4 separate regions of the Homo sapiens genome follow, and all the other regions are linked to region 1. Evidence: promoter capture Hi-C in 16 types of primary human blood cells and fetal thymus (Javierre and others, 2016). All regions are on one chromosome and are shown on one strand. Each heading gives the region's core, a stretch centred on a gene start or on the middle of the fragment in contact. The rest is flanking DNA. Distances are from core to core; before and after follow the strand shown. Region 1 holds the start of CCDC112 (coiled-coil domain containing 112). Region 2 overlaps FEM1C (fem-1 homolog C). Region 3 overlaps FEM1C (fem-1 homolog C). Region 4 has its middle 73 kb from the start of TRIM36.

What was found. Contacts are between HindIII fragments. The CHiCAGO score rates a contact against its expected background, and 5 or more counts as called.
Region 2: a contact is called between a fragment that was not itself captured here and the fragment with the promoter of CCDC112 in region 1, in 2 of 17 cell types (M1 macrophages and activated CD4 T cells). The highest score is 5.7, in M1 macrophages.
Region 3: a contact is called between a fragment that was not itself captured here and the fragment with the promoter of CCDC112 in region 1, in 15 of 17 cell types (non-activated CD4 T cells, naive CD8 T cells, activated CD4 T cells and 12 more). The highest score is 12.3, in non-activated CD4 T cells.
Region 4: a fragment that was not itself captured here is called in contact with the fragment with the promoter of CCDC112 in region 1 in 1 of 17 cell types (M2 macrophages); the score reaches 5.3 in M2 macrophages.

What each region holds. Positions count from the first base shown.
Region 1 is chr5:115,295,148-115,298,457 of GRCh38, forward strand. It overlaps CCDC112 (coiled-coil domain containing 112), which reads right to left and starts at 1,507. Exons shown (of 10, transcript NM_001040440.3): 1 at 1,280-1,507. The coding sequence starts at 1,396. LOC105379129 (a long non-coding RNA gene) reads left to right here and starts at 1,781. Exons shown (of 5, transcript XR_948684.3): 1 at 1,781-2,201. RefSeq lists a silencer at 1,156-1,605. The HindIII fragment of the contact is 8,729 bases long and covers 1-3,310 here.
Region 2 is chr5:115,519,112-115,522,378 of GRCh38, forward strand. FEM1C (fem-1 homolog C) reads right to left here. Exons shown (of 3, transcript NM_020177.3): 3 at 1,797-3,267. Among named protein-coding and RNA genes, the nearest start is that of FEM1C, 24 kb to the right of the region's middle. The HindIII fragment of the contact is 4,322 bases long and covers 1-3,267 here.
Region 3 is chr5:115,535,880-115,539,177 of GRCh38, forward strand. All of the region lies in intron 2 of FEM1C (fem-1 homolog C), which reads right to left. Among named protein-coding and RNA genes, the nearest start is that of FEM1C, 7.2 kb to the right of the region's middle. The HindIII fragment of the contact is 5,527 bases long and covers 1-3,298 here.
Region 4 is chr5:115,095,134-115,098,493 of GRCh38, forward strand. No RefSeq gene overlaps it. Among named protein-coding and RNA genes, the nearest start is that of TRIM36, 73 kb to the right of the region's middle. The HindIII fragment of the contact is 1,431 bases long and covers 1,341-2,771 here.

The DNA.
Region 1 (3,310 bases), core at 257-2,756:
CTAGGGGATTGATAAAATATCTGAAAGAGCTCCACAGGTGATCTGATCCAACCCCTGAGAAGGCAAACATCACAAAAGTGTGCATCAATAACAACATTAGGCAACTCGCAAGAAATGCAGATCAGAAGACAGAACATTGCTACAAGAATTTAGAGAAATGATGGAGAAAGCCAGCAACATGGTGTCACACATTTTTTTGAGCATAGTACTTAAAAATACTTTACGTATTATGTATATTTATATATTTTACATTTTTTCCTGAGATACTTGGGACAGAGTTAGAATAATAAAGAGAATTATAGAGGATGTGTGAGAAAATTTGCCGTAGGTGGAATTTCCTGAAGGTCTACGAGTAAAGACACTGTATTTCCTTAAAGGAGGAAAAAGATGGAACCTCTCCTCAGCTCATGACAGCCTTCCTTCAGGTTTATATTGATCCACAAATTATTTAGTAAGTGCATACTACGTTCCAGGCACTACACAACAGGCATAGTTCTTGGTGCTGGGAATACAATAAAGAATAAAATTTCCAATACTTTCTGCCCTCATGGAGCTTACATTCTCATGGGGGTGCGAGGGAGGGTGAGGGGTGTGAGGAGAAACATAAACAATAGAAATAAAGTATGTAATATAATATATGGTACTAAGTGCTATGGGGAAAAATAAAACCAGAAACAGGGACTGGGTGTGCCGCGTAAGGCGATTCATTTTAGGGAGATCATGGAAAGTCTCGCTGAGCTGATAACATCTGAACAAAGATACCTTGTCCTCACCACCTAGAAAGCGGTCCTAAGCCGATCACTGGAAACACCTCTGCCTCCGACCATCCCATATTGTCTTTCTCCTTGTGTTCCCAGCGCCGGTACAGTAACAGAGCTGCCACCAATTACTGAGCACAGAGTCCCCCTCCAATCAAGCACTGTGCCAGGGGCTCCCCAGACATAACGTTAGTCCAAAGCTCGGGAGGTGCATGTTACTATTCCCAATTTTTAGAGAAGAAAGTGAGTCGCCGACAGCATATGTTCTTATCACGCGGCTAGGAAGCGGCAGAGCCGGGTTCCCACCCAGGTCTTCCTCGACTCCGAAACCACATGGAGGCGGCTCTGCAAAAGCTGTTAAACGCACAAGCCAACAAAGAGCAACGCCCAGCGCGTGCCAGGCCCCGAGCAGGGGAGGCGAACGCCGCGCCTCCCGCCGGCGCTGCAGAGGGCACCTGTTCAGCCAGGGCCTGCAGCCCCTCGCCTGCCGCCAGAGCAGCTCTCGGTTCTCCCGGATTTACCTGTTGAGGCGCTGGCGTCGCTCCCACGCCGGTCCCGGTGGCCGCGCCCGCCCCTGCCACAGCCCCGGCTACCGCGGTGGCCGCAGCCGCTACCACAACCGTCGTCAGTGCGGCCATGTTTACCCGCCGAGCTACTCGGGCCGCGGCGGCCACCGGTGCCTGGGGATTCGTGGCAGGCGCACCCTGGCCTCTGCAGACAGCTCCCTGCGCTGCGGGCTTGGCCGGGATGCAGGGCGGGGCCGAGATGTAGGGCGGGGTCGGGATGCAGGGCGGGGCTGAGATGCGGGGGTGCAGGGGTGCGGGGGTGCGGGAGGGGCGGGACTGGGGTGCAGGGCGGGGCCGAAATGCGAGGCGGGGGCCGGGATTCAGGCGGGGAGGGGCGGGGCGAGGGAGGGGCAAGGTGCCGGGCGGAGCCGGGATGCAGGGGAGGGGCGGGTCTGGGGTTCTGGGGCGGGCGGGTGTGGGGGCGGGGCGGGGCGGGGCGGGGGCTGCGCTCTGCCCTGTCGCGGGTTTATATACCCTTTGGGCACTTAACCGACTGTGCCAGCCCAGTCCCATACCTGTCAAGAAAATTCATTGTCTTACATCGTCCTTAAATTTTATTCGTGTTATAGTCAATATATACATATTTTTACCTAATATACATCCGCTTTCTAGGTTTCTACTTAGCGCTGCTGAGACTGAGTCTAAATGAAAAAACATTATCAATGGATTCTAACAATAAATCATATTTTAGATTTTTAAAGAAAAAAACCCAGCTTGCTCCACAGAACCAGATATCAGAGGCAGGAATGCCACAGTTACATTCCTAGGACTTGGTCAATGAGAAGACAGATTCCAAAAATACAGTGCTGGGAAGTTGGAAAAAAGCCACAGATGACGCTTCCAGTCAAGACAACCTGTGGCAACTGAGCTGATTTCTGTAGGTACTACCTTTTCCCCCTTTATAGAAATCGATTCATTCAGTCAGTCAATATGGAGCTCCTAGCATATGTCAGGCACTGTTCTAGGCCTTGGGAATTCATTGTTGAATTAGACACATAGGTAAGGTTCCTTCACCTTTAACAAGTAAACAAATAGGTATTTATTGAGCAATTCCTTTATGCCAGGGCTGTTATAAGTGCTTTATATGCACTTTTGCATTTAATCTTCACAAATAACTTCATGAAGTAGGTACTATTATCATCTCCATTTCAGTGATAAAGTTAAGGATCACATGGCCACACAGGTAGAGGGTAGGATACCTATCTAGACAGCCTGACTCCAGAGACCATCCTGGTAGAGGTATTAAACAGGCAGCGGGATAAACGCCTCTGGAGCCCAGGAGAGAGAGAGCTAAAGATACGAATTTGATCTTCCTATAGAAAATATTTGAAATAAGACTGAATGAGCTCACCCAGGGTGAGTATAAATTGAAGTCTGAGAACTAAGCCTAGGCCACTCCGAGAAGGTGACCACGGACAAGAGGAGAAGGGGACCAATATGGAGAGATCTGTGAGAAGGGAGGAAAACCGGAAGTCTGTGGAGGGAAGTTTTTGCAGAAGAGGCCGGACGTGGTGGCTTACGCCTGTAATCCCAGCACTTTGGGAGGCCGAGGTGGGCGGATCACGAGGTCAGGAGATGGAGACCATCCTGGCCAACATGGTGAAACCCCATCTCTACTAAAAATACAAAAATTAGCTGGGCGTGGTGGCGCCTGTCTGTAGTCCCAGCTACTCGGGAGGCTGAGGCAGGAGAATTGCTTGAACCAGGGAGTCGGAGGTTGCAGTGAGCCAAGATCGTGTCATTGCACTCCAGCCTGGTGACAGAGTGAGACTTCGTCTCAACAAAAAAAAAAAAAAAAAAAAAAAAAAAAAAAAAAAAAAAAAAAAAAAGAGAAGAAGAAGAGGGGAGAAGAAGAAGAAGGAAGAAGAATGGAGGAGAAGAAGAAGGCAAAGAAGAAGAAGGAGAAGGAGAAGAGAGAAGAAGGAGAAGGGAGAAGGGAGAAGGAGGAGGAGAAGGAGGAGCAGGAGGAGGAGGAGAAGGAGGAGC
Region 2 (3,267 bases), core at 616-3,115, 220 kb after region 1:
TCTTTTAAACAATATTTTTACTGTACTTTTTCTATGTTTAGATACACAAATACTTACCATTGTGTTCCAATTGCCCAAAATATTCAGTAACTTGCTATACAGGTTGGTAGAGTAAGAGCAATGGGCTATACGATATAGCCTAGGAATGTAGCGTAGTAGTCTAGACCATCTAGGTTTAAGTACATTCTAGGATGGTCTCACAATGACAAAATCACCTAAAGGACACATCTCAGTACATTTTCCTAGGCATTAAGTGATGCAAAATAGTACAAAACACTAGTTTATTCTTAAGATGATCATCGGAAAGGTTTAAATGCATTTTACAAATTCTGTATAACTAAAGCTCCCACCATTTCTGTAAAAAGTTACATTTAGATGAGTAGAAGCTATTCTACTATCAGCTACTGAAGAGATAAGTAGAAAGATATTGTTGCCTAGTGGCATACAATGCAGGCTTATTTTTTGTGTGTGTGAAAGATTACTCTGAAAGAGCATGAGGAATATGCCTAATTTTCTCTCAACTTTCCAGTATATAATCCCGATCACACTTATTTAAAGTCATTCGTGACTTTAAATTGCATTTTCATAATTTACCAAATTTTAGCTACTACTACTTTAAGAATTTCTGTCTTGAAAAAACTTAAGATTCAACATGGGAAAAAGAAAAAAGGAAAACATACCTAAGATACTAGGTTTTAGAACAACTATGTACTACTACAAGTATCTTTTATAGCTGTATAATCTACAAGTATAAGGATGAAAAGATACTAAAAATAGATACCAATCCTAGGGTTTTCAATTTTTTCAAGGTAGGGAACTGTATTATTTCACTTTTGAAATCAGATGTACATATATTAGAAAAATCAATTAAATTGACATAATTATATAAAGCTGTAATTTTATGAGATAAAATCTTATTTAAGAGCTTTACAAAAAAACATGCAATAAAGTAACACGGAACCCAGGAATCAGTGACTTCACTTAACTCCCACAGCCCCAAACTTCTCAACAAAGAACGTTCTACCCACTAGTACAGAGATTAAAAAAATGAAATAAAGTATCTTGAAGAAATAGAGTATCTTGAGGACATACTAAGACTTTTTCTTATTTAGAGCCTTAAACATACAATATTCTTTTACTGATAAATTTGGTAAGAGTCCTCCTAAATATTGGTGGTGGTAGTGCAGACAACCATAGAACCACAAGACCAAGGGTAAAGAAGACTAATGTTTAAAAGGGCCCGGTCAAAGGAAGACAAAGCCTATACTTGTCATGAAAAAGGGATATTAACAATTCAAAAGGGAAAAACCCATAAAACTGGAGATTTCAATTTATGCTTGGAGTTTAGAAATTACAGCCAATTCATTTTCTGACTCAACTAGAGCTTTTTGTATTAGGCAAGTTAAACATAAAAAAAACAAGGACTACTTAGATTTTACAAATGAAAAGTGATGGAAAACAAACGTATAAAATTTGCATTCATAATAATATATTTATGATATACTTCTGATCACAGCAAACCAATTAAAAAACAAAAATTAAAGGCATCCCTTCTCTCATGCAGTTGACAACAAAAGTCTCCCCATATCTTTAGCTTCTGTGATCTCTACTAGAAAAAAAATTTAGAATAAACTGTACATAAATCATACTTACATAGAAGTATTAACAATAAATGCTATCTTTTAAGTTTTAACTGGCCACAAATTATCAATTAGGTTTTTCTGAAACAGGAGTTTACTATCATTTGCATTAGGATAATACCAATCAAGTATTGAGTTAATAAGAATACACTTAAATTTGGTGCAAATTTAATTTTATTAAACCTTACAATGAATGTTGTGGCATATGATTTTCCATTGTGTGACAATTTATTAGCTGGCATCCGAATACAGTACTTCTTTTGAAAAAATACACAATGGGAACTGACAAAAGGGAGAGAAACTAGTTGTTTAGTGACACATAAGGGCAAAAAAAAAAAAAAGAAAAAGAAAAAAAGAAAATGATGATGACCAATTAGTTTGTTTCCTTAGTATCTAACTCTAAAATGGTTAAAGTTCTAGGCAATAATGCTGCTGTTACAGTGTAAAAGAGTATGTCATTATCTCATCCAGCCTGCACAATTCTAAGAAAATTAATTACAAAAATTATCATACCTGTAAATTCAGCCTAAGGTTTCTGTTGGGCAATATGATTTTTAAAGAGCTACTTTTCCCATATAACCTAAACAATTTTCCCAAATAATAGTAGACTGGGGTCTCTATACACATTAAGGTAGTCACTTTACAAGTGAGCTATCACTTAACTTCAAATTCATAATGGGCACCAAATTATCTTTGATTTGGGTTTATGCCTGTCAGATTTATGAATAAGAAAAATGACTATTTTTAAGTCTATAATCCATTTGTCTTTATAAAGTAGACTGGCATCTAAGTAAAATGACCATTTCTTTTATAGAAATGATCAAAACAGTGGAACATCTAAAATTCAGGAGGCCCCAAAAGGGCATTTTCATAGAAATGTTAATAACTTACACATTAACTCCAGTCAATAACACCGTGCTACAGTGTACAGTTTAGTTAGACTCAAGAGTGTAATTGGTTCATTATTAAATTTACTCATCTGTGGTTCAAAAAATAACACAAATTTAAGTATTTTATTATAATCCATCTCATAATTGTGAGAATACTTTCTGACAAAGGCTTTATCAGTGTCACATTTATGAAACAATTTTCCCTAAAAGAAAATAAAATCAGGGACAATTTTGAGCTATTAAATTAACTGGTTTTTCAAAACCTCCCAATGGCATTTGTGGAGATGGCAGAGAAGGGAGAAATGTATTCTAAGTGAAATAAGTCATTTCAGTTATCAAGACTGAGTTCTAAGTTATCTATTTTTACTGGTGCAAAAATGCTATTTAAAGAAATCCTTACTTTACACAGGAGTTGCACAATTCAAATTCTGCTGCAAAACAGTGAGATGTGCCTCACTATAAGAGCATGTAAGCCCTCCCACCCAGCCCCCAAAGAGGAGGAGGAAATACTAAATCAATTAAAAATTCAATTGTCATCTGTTATCCTCAAATTATCGAGATCAACTAATGTAATTTACTATAATGGCAAAGTTTTCCTTTATAAAAATAATAGCTTATTCATATATAATTCTTATACCACAAAGTTAGAGGCAGATGATTTCAAGATACTGACATTTGATATTTCTAGAATATTGGTCTAAATCATAAAGTATTCTTAATATATGTGACAGTTCAAA
Region 3 (3,298 bases), core at 355-2,854, 240 kb after region 1:
CTGCAATAAAAAGAAAAGCACTCATACATGCTACAAAATGGATGAACCTTGAAAACATTACACTAAGTAACAAGACAACTCACAAAAGACTACATATTATGTGATTCCATTTAAATTAAATGTCCAGAACAGGCAAACTTAAGACAGAAAAGAGATTACTGGTTGCCTAAGACTAGTGCAGTTTCAGGGGAATGAGGAGGGATAGGAGGGAGTGACTCTTAATGGATATGAGATTTTTTCCGGGGGTGATGAAAAGCTGATAGTTGTGATGGTTGTATAACCCCGTGAACATACTGAAAAGCCATTGAATTGTATACACTTTAAGTGGTTTTGTGAATTTTATCTCAATAAGGCTGTTTTAAAAATCCAATTAAAATAAAAATATTATATTTTTGGTGAAAGTATAAGTGTTGACTGATAGAAGCAGCAATTAGAGGGTCTTTTATTATAATACATTTATTTGGAAAGACACAAAAACAGTCCTCATCTCTCTTTCTTCAGCCTACTATGCTTGGCACCAACCCATTCCTTCCTCAACTTTGTAGCTGGGGTTGGGCTGAGTACAGAGGTGGTCCACTTGTAAGATGAGGATAGGGTGTGTGGTTCAATTGCACAATAATGCTGATTCCAAGTATTTTATTCCCTGAATAACTAACAGGTGTAGGTTGATGGAGGAGGTAAGAAGGGATAAAGGGAAAAAAACAACTTAGGGTATCAAAGGAGCACTAGAAGAAGGATTCTCTGCTTAGAATGTTTCCCTTCCCCATGTGTAGTCTATCATGAGAGATACTCAAGAACAGAAGTTCAAAAAAAAGGAAATTAAAAAAAAGAAGATAAATTGTGCCAAGACTACTTACTATGTGCCCTCCCTTCATTAATTCTTTGTATAAGGCACTGAGCAAAGAACAAACAGAAATTTAACAATAAAGGTCCTTGAGCTTACAACAAAGTTAAACGCTAAAAAATATCTGCATCCAAAGAGGTAAGATGCATTCTTATAACCTGAGGGAGATGAAGAATTGCATTTGAAATGAGTCTCGATGTTAAGTAGAATTTTCAAGGCTAAGAGCACTGGAGCTAAGGGATGAGGACTAAAAGCAACTAATTATGTGTAAAAAACTCATCTAATGACAGAAAACTTCAACATTATAATTCCCTGTCCTCTAGTTCACAGACTCCCTGTTCAATCACAGCTCTTCCCAAAGGGAGGAAAAAAAGAAGGAAGACATGTTCTGATCAGATTTGCATCCAACTGACTTTTTCATCTGGGTCTCTCCCTATCTCTTCCACTTCTATCTTCCATCACATACATTCCTGCTGCCTCAACAGCATAAATCTATGTAATGCCCTGGGTTTCCTGAATTTTATTTCAAACAAACATATTTTATCAACCAATCAATGAAAATCTGATAAAAAATGAACCAGTGAAGGAACTACATTGTACCCGAAGGCCAGTAAGTGAAACGTAACTTCTATCTTAAGCTCATGTTACTGCCACGAACAATATGAACAGCAGTAGTGCTCAGGATCTACTCATTCTCACCAAACTGCTCAATTCTGTGAGGATTCACAGTTCAAAATCCAATCTCCAGGGACAAAGGACCACATGGATATTTCCCTACTGGACTCAATTTGCACACCATCTACAGCTTAGTTTATCCAACTAAGATACTAATTCTTCCCAAGGACACAGAAAAGTGTGCCAGGGGATACAAGAGGGAAAAGAATGAACACAGAGCAACTTACAGGAGTAACTTCATAATTTGGGATTAAAGTGTTAATGACTTCAACTAGTAAGTTATTTAAACATTACTCAATCAAAATAAATATAGATATATTAGAATAAGTCCCTCCCTTCCCCCTTTTATTTTTCTCTGTAAGTAGGTGTGCTGAGGTAACCAACAGCTGAGAAGAGTTTTCAAAGTCAAGAAGGAAAAGAGAACTTCAGCTTTCAACACTCAGATAGTACTAAAGTATACTAAAATAACCTAGAATGACATCAATCATTATCTTAGTCTATCTGAATACCAACAGTTTTTAGTTTACAAGAGAGATTTTCTCATTTGAGATTCTTGTGCATTTACAGTGGGGAATTAAATAAGATTTTTCTTTAGCATTTCCTTGACTAAAATACATCTATATTCTAAATGCCCATTCTATGAGAGAGAAATAATATAAAGCCTTGGATTTGCTTTAAACTACTATAGAAAACAAAAGGAAAGTAGAAACTTTTTTTTAAACTTTAGCAAATGGGTAATTGTTGAAGTAAGATGATGAATACATAGTGGTTCAATGTATTCTCTCTGTGTAAGTTAGAAAATTTCCATAATGAAAAGGCAAATAATCTGTCTGAACTAGTTCTCTCAAACCCTTTTAATGCTAGCAATCCTTGCCACATGCCTACATGAATTTCTCCCTTTTCTGAACCCCTATATTCTACCTGTGCTACTCATTTTTGTCCAACTACTGTCTTACTTTGTTACTTCAAGTCTTCATGCATGTATTTATTTCCCTACAGAAAGGCCTATAAAACATAGTGCTTGCCATCAAGGAGCTTATAATCTTTCCTCTCTTAAATCCAACATGTCCACTCAACAAGCTCATTTAGGGCCAGATACTCTTCCTAATGCATGGGGTAAAAACACTAGGTCTTTAGCCTCAAAGACTATGTAGTAGAATGCGGTTAGATGTCACAGTGTTGTAGTAGAATGCAGTTAGATAAGTTTCTCTGAAAACAAACAAGCAAACAAACAAACCACTCCAGTTAGTCCCCTGCTGAAAAACTTTTACTGGCATGAAAAATAAAATCCAACTCCTGTACCTAGATTAAATGTCCTTTAAAATTCAGCCCTGAGTGCCTTTTAGTTCTAATATGCCTACTTTCCAATTCCTGGACCCTCCAAGCATATTCTTCAAAGTGCCTTTCCTTATGCCATTTCCTAAACCTTCAAAACTGCCAAAACCCTTCCACAGATCCACATCCCAATAAACTTTCTGCAGATCTAAACCCCAACCTGTCCATAGATCTAAACCCCAAAATTCAAAGCCCTGTTTAACTTCTACTTTCTCCATGAAGCATTCCTAGTCAGTACACCCGCTCTAAAATCCTATAGCATGGATTGCTTATACTATTCCTTCAGAAGTTAAAAATGTGACACCTCGTATCTTCTCATAACCTCCAAAATGTCCCACAGAATGCCTTGCCTACAGAAAGTGCATGTTAATTACCTTATTACCAATTTATTTAATTACTTTGGGTATCTAAACTGACTGATGAATGAGGACAGAATGTCTTCTA
Region 4 (3,360 bases), core at 806-3,305, 200 kb before region 1:
GAATATCCAAAGCAAACAAAGAAAATGTGTGCTTAACCGAGAATATTTCTGTGCCAAAGGAAAGCTGGTAGCTGAATGATCAAGAAAATAACTAAACTTGTAAGAACTAAGCTGATAGTTATCCCCCTACGCGCTCAATTTTCCCACCCACCCAAAACTTACCTGATATAAATTGACAGATATTGATCGGACATCCAGCTTTCCAGGGCCCTTCCCTGGAAATGCTGATTTGGCCTGCCTGCAATGAGGCCCAATAATTTGTATTTTAATAACCAAGCAGTTCTTCTCATCAAGGAAATTGTAAAGTAGTAGATTTGAATGTTGCTACTCAAAATGTAATAAGGGAATCAGCAACAGCACAGCATTACCAAGGAGCTTGTTGGAAATGCAGACTATTAGAATCTACCCTAAACCTCCTGAATCAGAACTTGCATTTTCTGAGGTTGCATAGTGCTGAGAATATTGGAAGGAAAAATAAGCTAATCCAAATCATAACTTGAAGATTTCAATGCTCCCCTCTCAGTAATTCACAGAATAAGTAGATAAAAACTCAGCAAGGATATAAGGATGTGAACACCATCAACTAACCTGACCTAGTTGAAATTTGTAGTACACTTCACCCAGCAACATTCTTTTTAAATGAACATGAAACATTCATCAAGATAAATCATATTCAGCATGATAAAACAAGTCTCAGTATACATAAGAGTAAAGTCATATAGAGTCTATTCTCTTATCACAACAGAAATAAACTAGAAACAATAAAAGAAAGATACTGGAAAATCTTCAAGTAGTTGGTAATTAAGGAAATCACTTCTAAGTAGCACATGGGTAAAAAGAAATTACAAGGAAAATTAGAAAACATTTTTAACTGAGTGAAAATCAAACTCAACATGTTAAAATGTGTGGGATGTAGCTAAAGCAGTGCTTAGAGAAATTTATAGCGTTAAGTGCTTGCATTAGAAAAGAATAGCCTGGGAAAAATGGCACAACCCCATCTCTGCAAAAACTATAAAAATTAGCTGGGCTTGGTGGTGCATCCCTGCAGCCCCAGCTACTCAGGAGGCTTAAGCGGAAGAATGGCTTGAGCCTAGGAGATCGAGGCTGCAATGAGTCATGATCACGCCACTGCACTCTAGCCTCGGCAACAGAGCAAGCCCCTGTCTCAAAAAAAAAAAAAAAAAAAAAAAAAAAGGCATGTTTCCAATACTGAAAAATATTTAAAATATCCTGTACAGTTATTCATTTATTGACTGGGGTTCAAATCCATTCTTCATTGCCTGCTCCATAATAAAAGAGAAAGAACCTGTATCTTCCTTTTGCCAGCTGGCACATTGTTAAGCTTTGTCAGTAGAGCACATGGAAGGAACACAGGAGGAGGGAAAAGCATGGCTTTTCAGATTCTGGTGTGCTCCTCTCAGTAGGCTTCTGAAGCACGCAGCTTCCACCACTCTTGGCTCGTACAGCATGTGGCAGCAGGCAACTGGCAGCACACAGTCTATAGCAGTTCCCTGTAGGCAGCTTTCTCTGACACCCACTTTGGCCCTAAGGCATAATACCTCCCTCTGAACAGCTCCCTTAGCATTTCTTTTTTTTCTTTTTTTTTTAATCTTCTCTTTTTTTTTTTGAGATGGAGCCTCGCTCTGTCACTTAGGCTGGAGTGAAGTGGCACAATTTCAGCTCACTGCAACCTCCACCTCCCGGGTTCAAGCAACTCTCCTGCCTCGGCCTCCTGAGTAGCTGGAATCACAGGCGCCTGCCAACATGCTCAGCTAATTTTTGTACTTTCAGTTCTTTTTTTTTTTTTTTTTTTTTTGAGACAGAGTCTTGCTCTGTCGCCCAGGCTGGAGCGTAGTGGCACGATCTCAGCTCACTGCAACTTCTGCCCCACAGGTTTGAGCGATTCTCCTGCCTCAGACTCCTGAATAGCTGTGATTACAGGCGCACGCCACCATGCCTGGCTAATTTTTGTATTTTTTTAGTAGAGACGGGGTTTCACCATGTTGGTCAGGCTGGTCTCGAACTCCTGACCTCATGATCCACCTGTCTTGGCCTCCCAAAGTGCTGGGATTACAGGCATGAGCCACTGTGCCCGGCCTAATTTTTGTACTTTTAGTAGAGACAAGGTTTTGCCATTTTGGCCAGGCTAGTCTTGAACTCCTGACCTCAAGTGGTCCACCCACCTTGGCCTCAGAAAGTGCTGGGATTACAGGCATGAGACACAGCACCCAGCCTCCCTTAGCATTTCTAAGGAGTGTCACCATCCTGGCATCTTAGCACCATGGCCACACCCATACCCTCTCCATTGAGGTCTGGATCTCAGCCAGGAGACCTGACAGGCGGTAGAGGTGGTGGGGTTTGGGGATGTTTTTTTGAAATTTGCACCTTTGTTGGTGCTCTCTGTCAGTGCCAGGGACAGTGGCTATTCCCTGTAACTGCTATTTCTGTATTCTTTAACATTCTCTTTACTTCTTACCAGCCAATTCCCTGTTATTCGAATCCTTGGTCATAGTTAATACTTTAGCTTTTCCTTTTCAAATTACTGTGTGGTTTTTGTCTCCTGGTTGGCCCCTGACCAACACAGGTTGTGAGATGAAGAAGCCATTTTAACTTTCTCTCCCTGACAACAAAACCCAAATAAGCCATTTGCCTGATACCTAAGACAAACTCACATGTTGGCCAAATTTAAAAAACTGAATTCAATATCCTGACGTTGTATACAGAATTTAATACTAGCAATACTTAATACAAGTTATATAAAAAGTATAACAAGCTTATCTTTCATGAAAGACAACTGGCTGTAAATCCTATTGGCAAGATTCAAACAGTAAAATTATTAACCACTTACCACAAATGTGAAAGAAAATCTTCATGAACCAAAACTCTTCACCAAAATGAGCTGCTACTTCTAAAAGTGTCATCACCTCTACCTTATACTTACATAAGATCACAGTCCCTGGAAGTTTTCCAACTGGTACTCAAACGGGCAAGAGTTATTGTTAGCTGCAGATTGCCTAACACTGTCTAATATGTTAATTCTTTTGAGCATCCACAAATAAGTCAAATCAGATGAATAATTTGAGACTTTTGCATAACCATATTCAGCTGTGCTTTGTGGGGGTGCTCCTGGTTGGGCTACATTTCAGCACTAGGGGGCAATATCCTCACTTAGAATCTACTCTCCACTTGCACATGCCTAACACATTTTTGTTGTTGCTTTTTTCCTCCTAACTAGGGGATTTCTCAGTTAAAGAATCCAAAGAGGACATAAAATAAAATGCCATCCGAAATTCACTTGGGGGCTGTGGAAAACTTGCTCTCCAGTTATTTTTGAAAACTCTCAACAGTAGTTGCTGAATT